Regions from separate parts of the Homo sapiens genome. Here region 1 is linked to region 2. Evidence: promoter capture Hi-C in 16 types of primary human blood cells and fetal thymus (Javierre and others, 2016). All regions are on one chromosome and are shown on one strand. The core of a region is centred on a gene start or on the middle of the fragment in contact, and the rest is flanking DNA. Distances in the headings are between cores, read along the strand shown. Region 1 holds the start of ZNF438 (zinc finger protein 438). Region 2 holds the start of EPC1 (enhancer of polycomb 1).

Evidence for each region. Contacts are between HindIII fragments. The CHiCAGO score rates a contact against its expected background, and 5 or more counts as called.
Region 1: the fragment with the promoter of ZNF438 here is called in contact with the fragment with the promoter of EPC1 in region 2 in 1 of 17 cell types (neutrophils); the score reaches 6.7 in neutrophils.

What each region holds. Positions count from the first base shown.
Region 1 is chr10:31,030,531-31,033,230 of GRCh38, reverse strand. It overlaps ZNF438 (zinc finger protein 438), which reads left to right and starts at 1,366. Exons shown (of 7, transcript NM_001143768.2): 1 at 1,366-1,398. LOC105376481 (a long non-coding RNA gene) reads right to left here and starts at 723. Exons shown (of 3, transcript XR_001747410.3): 1 at 1-723. RefSeq lists a silencer at 1,145-1,704. The HindIII fragment of the contact is 8,810 bases long and covers 1-1,787 here.
Region 2 is chr10:32,345,904-32,348,603 of GRCh38, reverse strand. It overlaps EPC1 (enhancer of polycomb 1), which reads left to right and starts at 1,446. Exons shown (of 14, transcript NM_001272004.3): 1 at 1,446-1,841. The coding sequence starts at 1,689. EPC1-AS1 (EPC1 antisense RNA 1) reads right to left here and starts at 1,240. Exons shown (of 2, transcript NR_104163.1): 1 at 1,129-1,240. RefSeq lists silencers at 856-985, 996-1,465, 2,136-2,415 and enhancers at 1,736-1,795, 1,816-1,915. The HindIII fragment of the contact is 3,163 bases long and covers 1-2,365 here.

The sequences.
Region 1 (2,700 bases), core at 117-2,616, 1.3 Mb after region 2:
TGCCATAACATTTGTTTTTTCTGCTTACGAGAGTGTAAGAATTCCACAAGCCAAATGTTAATATTTTGTTGTCAGTTCTTTAAGCCTTCATTTTTTCCGTCTATCGAGCCCTTTTTTTTAACCAGAACTCATTGCTTCTGAGAGTATAAAAGAGCAAAGAGGCCGGGCGCGGCGGCTCACACCTGTAATCCCAGCACCTTGAGAGGCCGAGGCGGGCGGATCACGAGGTCAAGAGATGGAGACCATCCTGGCCAACATGGTGAAACCCTGTCTCTACTAAAACATAAAAATTAGCCGGCTGTGGTGGCGCGCGCCTGTAATCCCAGCTACTCAGGAGGCTGAGGCAAGAAAATCGTTTGAACCCGGGAGGCAGGGGGTACTGTGAGTTGAGATCGCGCCACTGCACTCCAGCCTGGGAGACAGAGAAACACTCTGTCTCAAAAAAAAAAAAAAAAAAAAGTGGGGAGCAGAGAGCCGGACTTGGACACGGGAAGGTATCGTGACATGAGTGGGTCGGGGGCTGGAAAGTTTGCCCAGGCGAAGAAGTGAACATGTTTATCCGGATCACCGTTTGTTAAATGAACAGCAACCCATAGGTAGCTTCACCGAGCCGAAACGGGAAAGGCGGCAGGCAAGGGAGAAGCTAAAATCTGCAAGAAACGGGCTGGGCTGGAGGCGGCGCCAGGGCAAGAAGGGCAGGTGGGGGCCCGCGGGAGCCGGGAGCCAGGGGCGGGAGCCGGAAGGGCGGGACCCAGGGGCAAGGCCTAAGTGGGCGTGGGAGGGGCATAGTCAAGAGATGGGCGGGGACTGCTCGGGGTCTGGGCGGAGTCTAGCGGGAGCCGCGTCGAGCCGGGGAGGAGCGAGGGACCCTGGGAGAGCTGTCTTTTCAGGGCTGAGGACCCGCCAGCACCTGATGGAGAGCAAATGGCTGTTTCCACACGTGGAGAACTTTTAACGAACACGTGAGGAAGGCGGGCAATGTCTGTGGAAAAACTACCTCACAACCCAGGCGTCTTACTCCAGCCCCCAGGGCGACAGCTTGTTTACAGTATTTCTGAAGGTCTCCGTCCCCTTTTGTCGGCCCCTCCTCCTCCTCTAACCCCGACTTCAGGCTTTGAGTGAGGCTTTGGTAGAGCAGTCGCCGCCGCAGGCGCCCCGGTCGGCGAAGCCCACAGGCATGCGGGCGCAGAGGCCGTCTGCGCCTGCGCGGGGTGTCTGCTACGGGGAGGTGCGTGGAGCTCGAGGGCGTGGAGCTCGGGGGCGTGTCTCCCGCCGCGGCGCCGGGGCGGGGCGAGGGCGGAGCCTGGGGGCCCAGCGGCCCGCGCCCCGTGGCTTGACCTCCCCGACTGCTGGGCCCGTGACGTCACCCCGCTGTGACGCGCACGCTGTAGGAAAACTGTAAGTTTACGAGGATTCCTGCAGCTCCTAGGGCTTGCGGGGCCCGCTGGCAGCTGGCAGTCCCGGCGGTGGTGGTGGCTCTGGGGGCGTCAGTTCCTTGGGGAGTCGCCGATTGTGGCGAAGGGACAGGTGTCTGCTCAGAGTGGCAGCGCGCCCTGCTGGGCGGTAGGGACCTGGGGTGCGGGAGGCGAGGCCGCGCCCCGTGGGGCCGGGCCAGCACCTTTTCCCCTGGGGCGGGGCGCGTCTCCGAGCCTGGGAGCGAGGCCTTAGAAGGGGCGGAAAGTCCAAATGGAGAGTCCCTTTTTTTCTTCCGTGATAAAGGGACTTAGATTCCTTTTCTTCCCCCTCTCAGCCTTGGAGTTTGACATGTTAAGTAGGGGATGGAAGCTTCCTCTCAGAGAATAGGAATCCTATGTCCTGGCCGTTGGGATCCCACAAGTGACCAAGTCATCGTGGACACATTTATAAGATAACCAGTTGCTGCCTCAGTTTTCTTTTTTGTGTAAAAGGGAGGTACAGCAGCCTCTGGCCTCCCTAATGGTTGTTCCCACAGCACTAGGAACACGTGAGATAACACAAGTGTGTAAATTTGCTAGGAGAAAGCTTATACACAGACACTTGGTTATTCTGAGGAATGTGGTAGCCACTGGCTATTTGACCAGGAATCTTGTAGAAGGGGAACTTTTTCACTGTTTTGCCTCCCCCCGACAACCTTCCCTCCATCTGATTCTATACCACACTGGAGCCTGTTGGGTGATCGAACTGTTGTCACTAAACTTGATAGAATGGGGATCCCAAGAAATAACAGGTATCGTTAGCACGGTACTCTTGGCAATTACAATGCCCCCGTTGTCTGGGTTTTGCAGAGGAAGCTTTCAGTGTGCTGGAACTAGCACATTATAGACAACACAGACTCACTGAGTTTTAAGGATTGCTGTATCGATTTGGAATATCCAATCATCGTATCTGACTGCTTGAATATTTTGGTCAAGGGGTACTACATTATCGATTAGTTATTACTAGACTATAATGCCTCTCAAACTCCGGGACTAGTAGTCTTCAGGAACTTTGAAGGGAAGAATACTGTGCACACTTCAGGGTGTATTTATACAGGAGCTCGAGAGTTCACATTTCTGTAAATTCATTTCAGGAGTGTGATATCTTTTCATCCAGGTAGGAAGAGCCTTTGAATCAGAAAGCAGGGCTTCTAATTTTTGTTCTATTCGTTAACTAGCTTCGTGTCCAAGGACAAGTCACGCAAACTTGGAACTTTGTTTTTCTTATCTAAAATGAGAGCCGATG
Region 2 (2,700 bases), core at 197-2,696:
AATATCGGAGTTTAAGTATAATTTTGGAGAACTGCAATCCGTCCTGTTTTCTCCCTACCCCGCGGGAGCTGGCTAAACCAGCCTGGAGGCTAGCAGTTTGCCTGTGTGCCCTAAGCTAGTGACAGCTCATATCAAGCCCAGTATTTAAGGAGCGTGATTACTTTTACTACGTAGTTCCCAGGGAGAAAAGCAACTCAAAACATTTTTGTATCTTTTTGTATCTTGTTGCACAAGATACAAAATTGTGCACTAAGATACAAATTGAAACTCGAATTGAAATTTGGCTGCCAATTTATTAAACCCACCCCAACAATCTTCCCTATTAACAACAACAACAACGAAGAGATCTCAGGATACCCATTTTCATGTGTAATATAAACCGATGCCACCCATCTATCATATCCATCTAAATCTAATAATTCAGCTTTTTGTTTGGCGGGAGTACGACAGGTCTTTATATGATTCAATGTTACAAAGTTTTTCAGAGGACAAATGATGAAAGTGTGAACCCACGGCTATGATGAAGCCGCAGTCTCTTTGAGTACAGAATCATGAGCTAGATATAAAGAACTGGCTTTAAATTCTGAAGTAGATCTTGCTTTTAAATGTTATAGTGGTGGGTAATAATTTCCTTTGCTTCAGTTACTATTTAAAAAGTAAATATGTGTAGATGAAAATGCAGGATTTAAAAAAATCTACTTTGTAGAATAGGATACCTATCATTTATATTAAGCCCAATGCGTGGGAAACGGATCAATGACTTGATGCGGTGCCTATAAAACATTATAATCCAAAGTTGCATTAGGACATAAAAATAACTGCTGATAAAAGTTTACTCAAAGTAGCATCTGCCCCTAATTCAGTTTGTATTTTTATCGTAAAGACCTAAGGCGCCGCGGGAACTAGGCTGTGCGTTCGCCCCCCGCGGCAGACGGCGGCGCGCGGCGCCTCTGGAGCGCCCCTCCGAAGCCCCGTGGGGGCGGCCGTGGCCCCGGGGCAGCCGCTGGCGAGCACCCCAGAGGTCCGAGCCCTCCGAGCCCCAGGTGCCCGGGGCCCGAGCCCCGCCTGCCACTCTCCCCAGCTGCCTTTCCAAACGGCGGCGTGCTGGTGGAGAGAGTTTTCCCGCACCTTGTTCGCCCGTCAGAAAGCGGCGCCGGGAGGGAGCGAGCGTGAGAAAGTGAGCGTGTGCGCTGCAGGAGAGCACGACCCAAGAGCCGGCGCCCGGTGTCCGAGCGCCCAGTCCGCCCTGTCCGCCCCCGGACCCGCGAAGGGCGGGGGCCCGGAGCAGCGAGGCGCGGGAAGCGAGGCCGGCGGGTGCCGGGGGTTGGCGGGACGCGCGCTTCGTGCCGGCGCCGGCCTCGAGCCCGCGCTCCCTCCCCCCGCCCGCGTGCCCGCGCCGCTGCGCGATGCAGTGTGGGGAATGGCTGGGGTTGGCTGAAGAGCGCACAGTGGAGTTTTAATGTCCGCCATGTTGGCCATGGCGTATTGAAGAGAGCGAGCGAGAGAGGAGCGGAGCGGCACAGCCTCCCACCCTCCCGGCTGGTGTTAGTGCCCGGACGGCGGGCTCTGCGCTCCGCCCCTCAAGTCCCCGGCAGCGGTTGGCGAGTGGGGACCGAACCCCCGGTTCTCCATGATCCCGCTGGCCGGGGCCGTTTCCCCAGAGCGGAGAGGTATCTGCTGCGCCTGAGATGAGTAAACTGTCGTTTCGGGCGCGGGCGCTAGACGCCTCGAAGCCGCTGCCGGTTTTCCGCTGTGAGGATCTGCCCGACCTGCACGAATACGCCTCGATAAACAGGGCCGTGCCGCAGATGCCCACCGGAATGGAGAAGGAAGAGGAGTCGGTACGTGTTAACTCCCCTGTCCGACCCACCGTCAGGCCCGCTCCCTCTGCTGCCTGCGGCGGCGGCGGAGCAGCAAACCCACACAAAATGGCCGCCATCTTCTCTTCGCCGCCGACTCTCAGTCGCCGGCCGGGCCTATACCCCGCCTCCCCCAGCCTCGACCCCCGGCCGCCGCGGCCCAGCGGGGCCCCTTCTAAGGCCACCCGCTGACCCTGGCCACTTGTACCCGGGTCCCGCGGAGTTCGGGGGCCCGAAAGGCACAAAGGGGTCACGTGACGAAGCTGCCGGCAGCCATTTTGTGTCTTAGTTCTTGGGTTGGGCCTTGTGCATCCGGAGAGGGGAACGGGCTGGGTGGCTGTGGGGGTGCGGCGAGTCGGGAGCCGTGGAGGACCCGCCTACAGGCCTCTCCGTGGGCCGCTGGGTGGCGCTCCAGGGCCACTGCGGCCTGCGCGCCGCTGCCCGGGCCGGGAGCGCAGGTTCTGTGCACAGTCGGGGAATTTGATTGCCCCATGGTCTGGGAAGCTTGTTGGGCTCAGTGCAGCCCCCACGTGGAGCCTCAGACGGGCATGTCATGTCGCCTGCTGCTCTATGAGGCTTTTCTCCCCCTCTGCAAGGAAATGTCGAGGGTGCAGCGTGTTTGCCCGGACGACTTACTTTTCTAGAAGATAAGACTTACTTTCAGTGTCCTCTTTCTGGGACGTTTGTATCCATCCCTCTCCAGAGCTAGTTGGTCGGAGGATAATAAACCACTATCCCTGACTTTTTCTGTGATCCTTGCGAATATCTTGCAGATTTGTTTGGAGTACCTCTCTCTTCTGAAGCCTGTAACCTTACCTATTTGTAAAATAAATTTAAGTTC